Linked DNA regions of Homo sapiens: region 2 is linked to region 1. Evidence: promoter capture Hi-C in 16 types of primary human blood cells and fetal thymus (Javierre and others, 2016). All regions are on one chromosome and are shown on one strand. The core of a region is centred on a gene start or on the middle of the fragment in contact, and the rest is flanking DNA. Distances in the headings are between cores, read along the strand shown.

Region 1 (5,320 bases), core at 1,665-4,164:
AAAATACTGAAATTACTCTCTCAAAACAGGGAACAAAGTAATAATAGTAATATTAATAATAATTTACAAATGAAATTCTCAAAATAAATGCTACTAATAAATAAGACCACTTAGACCAGGCCAGATATGGAGCTGTTTCAAATAGTCAGAGTTCTGATTTTTGGCTGTCTTTTCTCTTTAGACACTTAGAGAATTCTTCCATCACAAAGTAAGACCGATGAAGAGGCTAATTGCAACAGACCTCTCCAGAAGAGAAAAGCGGCCTGAGTCGGGATTCTTATGAGAGGCTGCTCATATTTTGAAAATTAAGGTGGATAACTGATTTGGGGGTTGGGAGGAAGAAACATACCCAGAAATCCAGAAATAAAAGTACTATCATATGAATTCTCTCCCTCTCTGGATTCTGAAAACAGTTCTATAGAAAAGGAATAAACTAGGCCGGGCGCAGTGGCTCACGCCTGTAATCCCAGCACTTTGGGAGGCCGAGGCGGGCGGATCACGAGGTCAGGAGCTCAAGACCAGCCTGGCCAACATGGTGAAACCGCGTCTCTACTAAAAATACAAAAATTAGCCGGACGTGGTGGCACACACCTGCAATCCCAGCTACTCGGGAGGCTGAGACAGGAGAATCACTTGAACCCGGGAGGCGGAGGTCGAAGTGAGCCGAGATCGCGCCACTGCACTCCAGCCTGGGCAATAGATAGAGCAAGATTCCGTCTCGGAAAAAAAAAAAAAAGCAGAAAAGAATAAACTAGAGGGATTTAGGTTTTGCGCTTATTTTCCTTCTATAAAAATAAAACCAAAAAGCCACCGCGCAATGGAAATTTGGAAGGGAGGGCTGCACATTTTACAAAAACTATCGGCCGAAATCTCTGACCCGAAAATTTTGTCTTGTTCCTGCTTTCTCTTAATATAAGCCAAAAACCAAAAGTAAGAGGGGAAGCGCCTCCAATCCATTAGGGATGAATTGCACGAAAATGCATTGCAAATACTTACAAAATGCTACCGACTGGGGGAGGGGAAGCAGAGGCTGCGCGCCCAAGCCCCAGTTCCTGAAGGCCGCTGGACTTCTCGGCGCCCTCGGCCCGGCCCAGTCTCCTCCGGGGTCCGGACAAGGAGGCCGGGCGCTCCCTCCCCCACCCCTCTGGGGCCTCAGACCGGCCGTAGCAGCGGCACGGAAGAGACCACCGGGTGCGAGTAGTAGACGGGGTGCGGGAAGGTGAGCAGCGGCTGGCTGACTGGCACCGGGGCCCCCGCGGCTGCAGCCGCCGCGCCCTCGGCCGCCGAGTTCTCGTGGTAGAGGATGGGCACCCGCACGATGCGCTGCGCCGCGGCATGGCTCAGGTTGGCCGCCTCCAGCTCCGCCGCCAGCTGCCGCTTCCACTTGTTGCGGCGGTTCTGGAACCAGATCTTGACCTGCGTCTCGGTGAGGTGCAGGGACGCGGCCAGGCCGGCTCGCTCCGAGCTGCTCAGATAGCGCTTCATGTCGAAGGTGGACTCGAGCTGGAAGACCTGGCTGCGCGAGAAGACTGTGCGCGTCTTCTTCTTGCGGCACGCCGGCTTCTTCTCTGGACTTTCAGCGCCCTTCTTCCAGTCTTCTGCGCCCGGAGTGGCCGCCGCCGCCCCTACGCTCGCCCCGGCCGCGCCTGGCGCCGCTTCGCCTTCCTTTTTGCTTTCCTCGGAGTCGCTCTCCTCCAGAATGATCTCGTCCGGGCTCTTGGAGTCCAGCTCCTTGTGATCGGGGTCGGCCTTGAGCAGTGGCTCCGGAGAGTCGCGGTCTGTGCCGGAGGCGGGGGAGGAGTCTCTCAGCAAGGCCTTCTCCGAGGCTGGGGAGACAGACAGACGGACGCACACACATGCACACCGACACAGCCTTGAGCGAGGCCCGGCGCCTGGGGACGGCAGGCTCAACCCGCGCCGGCCTCCAGGTCCCAGGCCATGAGGCCTCACCATTCCCGCGGGCTGCCTCCTTCTCGGCTGGGCCAGAGAAGGGACGCCGAGTCCTGGGATCCCCCTCCTCCCGAGGACAGGCAAGCAGATGGTGGTAGCGCGGCCACCTCCTTCCATTCCCTCAGCTTCCTCGCCAGGGGCCGGCAGAACGGTTCCCTTTCGGCTTAGGCGCATTGGAATCACCCCCTCCTTCCAGGCCGTGTCCCAAGCCCCGGCCGTCCGAAGCCTCCCTATTCACGCCCGAGGCCACTTTTCCCGGGAAGCACCGTGCCCGGGGCTCCAATTCCACTTCTTTTCTCACCAAGTGGGATTGGATTAACGGGCAGCGCAACCCAGCGCGAGGGCAGGCTAGGGGCCGAAAAAAACTGACCGAGCAGAGGGTTTGCGGGTGCTGGGGTCCCAGAACTGCGGAGGGAAGCAGCGCGGGGCGGGGACGGGGCGGGCGCGCAGGGGGACAACGAAAGTTCAAAGAGAGGTCGGTACCTTCAGGTCGCGGGAGGTGGCCGCCGGCGGGGGTCAGGGTGTAGGGGTACCACCAGGCTGGGGAGCGCTCCAGGTAGTGCGCGGGCAGGGCAAACCTCTGCGCCGGGATCTCAAAGCGAGGGAAAGCCAGGTCGCCCACCTGCGAGAGCGCGAAGCCCGCGGCGCCCTCCAGGGCCCCCTTGGCCGCCGCGGCAGCGGCAGCGGCGGCGGCGGCGGCAGCCGAGGCTGGCGCGAAGAGCGTCCGTGGGGGCGGCTGAGGCTTAGGGGGCGGCCGGTGGTGGTCTCCGTTGAGCAGGTTCTTGATGGAGAACGGGGACTCCTTGGGAGCGGGTGGGGGGGGCGGCGGCGGTTGGGGCTGTGCGCTGGCGGTGCCGGCAGCGTCCGGCCCGGGTTCCGGCATGGTCCCCTCTCCTCCGGGTCCCCGGGAGGGAGGGAGCGGGACAGGCGGGCGGCGGGGCGAGCAGGCGAGAGGCCGGAAATCAGACCATAAACGGAACTCAACTACGGGGCGCAAAGTCGGGGGCCGCCCCGGGCGCAAATCCAACGGCGGGAGGGCGGAGTGAGGACCCAGACGGGCGGGCTCGCATGAGGGAGGGGTGCGGAGGGGCGGGGAGCGGCCCTGCCGCGGCACCGAGGGATCGAGGCGGCTCGGCTGCGGCTGCGGCTCCCGCGGAGGAGGCAGCAAGAGCAGTCCCCGGCTCGAGGCTGCGTCAATCCGGCGCCGGATGCTAATGATGAAATCAAAATGTCATCCAAGTTAAATGCGGGGAGTATACGGCGATTGGGCGCGTACAATGGCAAATGGGATTAGGCAGGCGAAGGCTCAGCCGAGCCCCGGCCCCGCAGCCGCCTCCGCCACCGCCCCCTCCTCGCCTTCCCTCGGATTTTGGCGCTTTGGCTTCGGGCTATAAGAGCCCGCCCGTTATTGGCTTTATATAGTCCAATTAGGCAGCAAATGAGGACAAGCCTATTAGCACAAAAGGATATTGGCTCCCGCTAAAGAGGCACTCGGAGCGCTCCTGCGAGCGCAGGAGGCGAGCGAGGGACGCGGAGCAGGCGGCGCCCTTGGCCGAAGCGCACTAACGGCCGCGAGCCCGGAGACCGCGCCTGCCTCTCCCCCCTGCGGCGCAGGGACCCGCTTCCCGCCGCCAGGCCTGCGGGAGGGGGGAGGGGCGGACCAGGCCCTCCCGGGTCACCTCGGGGTTATCTGCGCTCGCAGCTGCCGCTCCCCCGCCCCCTGGGGCTGGACAGGGGCCCGCCGCCCCCACGCAGCTGGAGAGCCACGCAGCGCCGGCCCAAGAGGCAGGACGTGACCTCGGCCCTCGGAGAACTCATCATTTTCCTACCCTTTGGGGTCCGGCGACCTCGGTATTTTTCCTAAAGCCTGCTAGGAAGGGCGAGGCCAAGAAGAGAGGGATTTGGGTTCCCCACCCACCATCCAGCCGATAGTAAGGGAATCCAGGTGTAAGTCCTCGCACTGCGTCTTCGGACTCAGAAATCCGCGTGGCCTTGGCCTTTAGCCCTGGAAAACCGAAGAGTGAGCCTTCCCCCGGGACCAGGAGTGGGTGTGCCTGTGTGCGTATGCGCGCTGACCCGGCCAAAACCCGCGCGTCACTCGGTGGGGCTGCTGGGGCAACAGCTTCTCGGCACCGACGGCTGCTCTCGGAAGGGCACCCCTCTGCTCTGGCCGCCGGTGCCCAAGGCTCGCGGATCAACTCCGAGTCTGTGACCCCGACGACAGCACTTTCTCCCAGGAAGTCTCTCCGGCCAGCTGGCGTTTGGAGCTGTCTAACTAACGCTTTAATGGGGGCAAGGTGAACCGAAGGCGCAGCGGCGTAGCTTCCTCCGCCGCGGCAAGCAGCGGCATCCGCTGCGCGTCTCGACGGCAGCGAAGTCCTTAGAGAACCACACTGGACCTTTGCAGAACGGCTTAGTGAAAGGACATTCCACTCCACTGGCTTTAAAAACAGCTCCCCGGTTCGCACGAGAAGCCCATGAGGCAGACATTTAAGACTCATGATTTAAGCATCAAGTAAATCAGAATTGTTTGTGAGGTCCCCTCCCGAGAGACAGCTTTCTTATCAGAGAAAGGTGACAAACTGGCCTCACCCTCTTCCACCCTGGTGAAGCTCCCGCACACGAGGGCTTTTTGGGATCCCTTCACCTCCCCACCGCTTTCTTTTTCGTTAGATTGAGCCTCGCCTAATTCAAGGCCGCCCTGCATTGGCAGACGTGATCGTGTGGGGTCCCCACTTGAGAGGTAGATTTTGTTTTTCGGTCCTGGGGCGTCAGACCCTCCCCCACCAAATCTCGACGGGCATATGTAATGTTTCTTTCTGCATTCATCTACAGCAGCGAACCCCATTTTTGCTTTGGAAATCTGGAAACGTAAATGGCGCTTCCATAAACAATTACTGTTATTACTCCCTTGAGTTTACACAGGGCTTTACTGGAATGCAAAACGCTACGCCATCCAAAATCTGGGTTGGAACGGATCACTGCCCTGAGACCCCAGCAGGGTGGGTCTCATACTTGGATTTTGTAAGTGGAAACCCGCGCCCAGAGAGGAGGAAACTGGGCCTAGGTCGCCCAATCGCTGCTGGATACCCAGAGGTCATTTTCCCCCAACCGCAGAAATAGCTCGATGCACGTAGGTCTATGAGGGTTGGGTGGGCACCGCCTGCACACAGCCTGCCACGCGGCCGAGTATGCGTGGAGAGACCCCGGCGTGTATGCCTGTGTGTTTTGGGAGCTTCGCCATTCAGCGCAGACGCATGCAAACTTGGCTAGAGTTCTGACGCACGAAAGTCGACTTTAAACTGGGAATGCTGAGGGTTCAGTCTGGGGAGGGGGACTCGTGGCTGATCACAACTCCAGCGCTAGACTC
Region 2 (5,320 bases), core at 1,427-3,926, 850 kb before region 1:
TCTAACGCTGCGCAGAAACTTCCTGGGGTTGTTTCTTTTAACAGCTGTCCAGTGAACGAAGACATCTTCCTTGGCGTCATTCCTGTTGGTGAATCCGTAACCACTCCGGACGTTGAACCGTTTGGCAGTGCCCAGGCAGGACTCGGGTTGCCAGCACCGGCTTGTCCGCCTGACTCCGGGCGGGGGTTCCCGAGGCCGCCGTCGCCGGGTTGCCAGGGGTGCGGGGGCCCGGCGCCGAGGGGGTCCCAGCAGCGGGGTCCAAGGCGGCTGCGTCCCCGCCGCAGCCGCCCGCCCCGCCGCCTGCTTTCTGCGGCTCCCCTGCGGGCACCGGTACCACCACCGCTACCACCCCTGCCACCGTCGCGGGCACCGTCGCCGCGGGGACCGCTGTCGCCACCGCTGCCGCCTCCACCTCGCTCATCCCGCCGGGTCCAGTACCGGCCCCCGCCGCCACCGCCTCCTCCGCCGCCGCCGCCACCGCCCCGGCCCCTCCCCCCGGCTGGCGAACCCGCTGCGCTGCGCGATCCTCGCGCCCCGAGCCTCGCCCGGACGCCCAATGTCTTCATTCTTAATTGCTGCACTTCTTTTTTTTTTTTTTTTTTTTTTTTTTTTGAGATGGAGTCTCGCTCTGTCGCCCAGGCTGGAGTGAAATGGCTGATCTCGGCACACTGCAACCTCCACCTCTCGGAGTCAAGTGATTCTCCTGCCTCAGCCTCCCAAGTAGCTGGGATTACAGGCGTGTGCCACAACGCCCGGCTAATTTTTGTATTTTTAGTAGGACGAGGTTTCACCATGTTGGTCAGGCTGGTCTCAAACTCCTGACCTCAAGTGATCCTCCCGTCTTGGCCTCCCGAAGTGCTGAGATTACAGGCATGAGCCATCATGCCCGGCCTGCACTTCTTAATCGCTCCCTTTCCCCAGTCCCTCAAGCCCATGCTTGTTCACGTATCACAGCCCCTCACCAACCAGTGGCTATGCCTCTTGGAACACGGGGCCCTCTCAGCCCATGCACCAGAAGAGGGAACTACCATTGCCTTAGCTGAGAAGCGACCCATTTAAGTCCACTCACATTTCAGTTGCCAGAACTCGATCTGTGTCCCCATCCAGCTGTGAGACGGCCAGTCTGCCTTGGCCTGGATGGAGAGATGCTGTCAGGAACCTGCGCTGTCTTGCATTTCACTGAGGACTCCTATGAGACTCTGCAAGGAGAAAAACCATATGATCGTCTCAATCAACGTCAACAAAAGGATTTGACTAAAGGTAACATCCCTTCATGATGAAAATCACCAACAAATTAGGTGTGAAAAGGAACATATCTCAACACAATAAAGGACATATATGACAAACCCACAGCTAATATCATATTGAATAAAAAAAAGCTGAAAGCTTTTCCTCTAAAATCTGGAATAAGACAAGGATGCCCACTTTCACCACTTGTATTCAACATAGTACTGGAAGTCCCTGCCACAGCAATTAGGTAAGAGAAAGAAATAGAGAGCATCCAAATTGGAAAGAAAGAAGTCAAATTTTCTCTGTCTGCTGATGACGTGATCTTCTAAAGTCTTCACCAAAAAAACCGTTAGAATTCATAAGTTCATTAAAGTTGCATGGTACAAAATCAACATACAGAAATTAGTACTGTTTCCATACACCAATAGCAAACTATCTGAAAAAGAAATCGAGAAAGCAATCCCTGGGCTGGGTGTGGTGGCTCACGCTTATAATCCCAGCACTTTGGGAGGCTGAGGCAGGAGGATTGCCTGAGGTCAGGAGTTTAAGATCAGCCTGGCCACATGGTGAAACCCGTTTTGTATCTACTAAAAATACAAAAACTAGCTAGGCATGGTGGTGCACACCTGTAATCCCAGCTACTTGGGGGGCTGAGGCAGGAGACTTGCTTGAATGCGGGAGGCAGAGGTTGCAGCGAGGCGAGATAGTGCCTCTCCCCTCCAGCCTGGGCAATAGAGTGAGACTGTGTCTCAAAAACAACAACTACAACAACAAACCAAGAATACATTGAATCAAAGTGGTGAAAGATTTCTACAATGAAAATATAAAATATCAATGAAACGAACTGAAGAGGACACAAATAAATGGAAAGGTATTTTATGTTCATGGGTTAGAAGAATTAATATTGTTAAAATGTTCATACTGCACAAAGTGATCTAGAATTTCAATGCAATCCCGATCAAAAAAATTAACATTCTTCACAAAAATAGAAAAAACAATCCTAAAATATGTACCAAACCATAAAAAAACCCAAATAACCAAAGCAATCTTAAGCAAAAAGAACAGAGCTGGAGGCATTAAACTACCTAACTTCAAGATACACTACAAAGCTATAGTAACCAAAACAACATGATATTAGCATAAAAACAAGACATATAGACTAATGTGAGAGAATGGAGAACCCAGAAATAAATGCAAGCAGTTATAGCCAACTGATTTTTTTTGACAAAGGTGTCAAGAACACACACTGGGAGACAGGACAGCCTCTTTAGTAAATGGTGCTGAGAAAACTAGATATTGACATTCAGAAGAATAAAACTCTACCACTTTCTTTCACCATATTAAAAAAAATCAACTCAAAATGGATTGAAGAGTTAAATGTAAGACCTGAAACTGTAAAACTACTAGAAGAAAACATAGGGGAAATGTTTTAGGACATAGGCCTGGGCAAGGATTTTTTGTTGCCTATGCTCAAAAGCATAGGCAACAAAAGCAAAAATAGACAAATGGTATTATAGCAAACTAAAAAGCATTTGTACAACAAAGGAAACAATCAACAGAGTGAAGAGACAATCTATAGAATAGGAGAAAATATTTGCAAACTATGCATCTGACAAGCGGCTGATATCCAGAATATATAAAGAACTCAACTCACTAGCAAAAAACTAAATAATTGAATTTTAAAATGGGCAAAAGATCTGAACAGATATTTATCTAAAGAATACATAAACATTGCCAACAGGAGTGTAAAAAAATGCTCAACATCACTAATCATGAGGGAAATGCAAATAAAAACCATAATGAGATATTACCTCACCCCAAGTAGAATGGTTATTACCAAAAAGACAAAAAACAAAAGAAATACTGGCAAAGATGTGAAGAAATGGGAACCCTTATGTAATAGTCTGTTCTCACGTGGCTAATAAAGACATACCTGAGACTGAGTAATTTATGAAGGAAAGAGGTTTAATTGACTCACAGTTCCACATGGCTGCAGGGGCCCCACAATCACAGTGAAAGGTAAAAGGGAAGCAAGACATGTCTTACATGGCAGCAGGCATGAAGGCTTGTGCAGGGGAACTGCCCTTTTATACAATCATCAGATCTCACGAGACTTATTCACTGTTATGAGAATAGCATGGGAAAAACCCACTCTCAAGATTCAATTACCTCCCACTGGGCCCCTCCCATGAAACATGGGCATTATTACAATTCAATATGAGACTTGGTTGGGGACACAGAGCCAAACCATATCACCTTATATACTGCTGGTGAGGAATGTAAACTAGCACAGCTGTTATGGAAAACAGTATGGAGGTTCCTCAAAAAATTAAAAATAGAGCTACCGTATGATCCAGCAATCTCACTGCTGGGTATACTGTATATATCTAAAGGAAATGAAGCCAGTATGTCAAAGAGACACCTGCACCTCCATGTTTATTGCAACACCATTCATAATAGTGAAGATATGGAAGCAACCGAAGTGTCCATTAGTGAATGAATGGATAAAGAAAATGAGGTACGCATACACAATGGAATTGTATTCAGCCATAAAAAGAATCGAGTCTTGTTATTTTCTGCAAGATGGATGAACCTGTAGGACATTATGTTAAGTGAAATAAGCCAAGCTCAGAGGTATAAATACCACATGATCTAGCTCACTTGTGGAATCTGAAAAAGCTGATCTCATAGAACTGCAGAGTAGAATAGAAGTTACCAGAGGGTGGAGAAGCTTAGGGGAAGGAGGGGATGAGAAGAGATTGGTCAATGGGTACAAAATTACAGGTAGATAGAAGAAATAAGTTATAGTATTCTATTGCACAGTAGGGTGACTATAGTTAACAATACAAGGGGACTTCAAAAAGTTAGGAAAAAATGGAATTAAAAGATAAAAATTTAAAGCATAAATTTCATTTCTCAACATAAGCTCCATCAACTTCAAGACATTTTTCTAAGAGATGTGATATGGTTTGGATCTGTGTCCCCACCCAAATTTCATGTTCAACTGTAATCCCTAGTGTTGGAGGTGGGTGGGGCCTGGTGGGAGGTGATTGGGTTACGGGGGCACATTTCTCATGAATGTTTTAGCACTACCCCTTGATGCTGTCCTCATGATAGTGAGTTCTTGTGACACCTGGTTGTTTAAAAGTGTGTAGCACCTCCTGCCCACCCCCACCATCCCTCCTGCTCTTGCCATGTAAGACACCTACTCTCACTTTGCCTTCTGCCATGAGTAAAACTTCCCAAGGCCTTCCCAGAAGCAGATGCCGCCATGGTTCCTGTACAGCCTGCCAATTAAACCTCTTTTCTAATAAATAGCAGTTTGACAATGGACTAATACAGGATGATACCAGCCATTTAGTCCGTTCCTGAAGAACTGAGGGTCCTGGGAATTTAACTATGTCAATGTAGTCTTTTTTACATTATTAACTAAAGGAAAATGGGTGCCATTTAAAGATTTTTTAAGATTAAGGCCGGGTGCAGTGGCTCATGCCTGTAATCCCAGCACTTTGGGAGGCCAAGGTGGGCAGATCAGGAGTTGGGGACTAGCCTGGCCAACATGGCAAAAGCTCGTCTCTACCAAAAATACAAAAATTAGCTGGGTGTGGTGGTGCACACCTGTAATCCCAGCTACTTGGGAGGTTGAGGCACGAGAATCGCTTGAACCCAGGAGGCAGAGGTTGCAGTGAGCTGAGATCACGCCACTGCACTCCAACCTGAGTGACAGAGCAAGACTCTTGTCTCAAAAAATAAATAAATGAAATAAAAAATACATTTTTTTTTAAGATTAAGAAACAAAAAGAAGGCAGAAGAAGCCACATCAGGACTGTAAGGTGCATACCTAATGATTTCTCATTGAAACTCTCATAAAAGCCCTTGTTTGACAAGAGGAATGAGCAGGAACATTCTTGTGGTGAAGGATTCTGGTGAAGATTGCCTGGGAGATTTTCTCTTAAAGCTTTGGCTAACTTTTTGAAAACACTCTCATAATAAGCAGATGTTATCATTCTTTAGTTCTCCAGAAAGTCAACAAACCAAATGCCTTGAGCATCCCCAAACATGTTGCTATGACCTTTGCCCTTGACTAGTC

Evidence for each region. The method cuts DNA at HindIII sites, captures the fragments that hold promoters and counts their contacts. A CHiCAGO score of 5 or more calls a contact.
Region 2: a contact is called between a fragment that was not itself captured here and the fragment with the promoter of HMX3 in region 1, in 1 of 17 cell types (M1 macrophages). The highest score is 5.2, in M1 macrophages.

Annotation. Positions count from the first base shown.
Region 1 is chr10:123,133,564-123,138,883 of GRCh38, reverse strand. It overlaps HMX3 (H6 family homeobox 3), which reads right to left and starts at 2,914. Exons shown (of 2, transcript NM_001105574.2): 1 at 2,434-2,914; 2 at 1-1,826. The coding sequence starts at 2,833. The coding sequence ends at 1,153. RefSeq lists enhancers at 602-1,566, 2,749-3,699 and silencers at 2,486-2,535, 2,546-2,955, 3,006-3,085, 3,466-3,595, 3,626-3,745. The HindIII fragment of the contact is 8,924 bases long and covers 1-5,320 here.
Region 2 is chr10:123,986,849-123,992,168 of GRCh38, reverse strand. It overlaps the pseudogene YBX2P1. Among named protein-coding and RNA genes, the nearest start is that of CPXM2, 98 kb to the right of the region's middle. The HindIII fragment of the contact is 2,575 bases long and covers 1,389-3,963 here.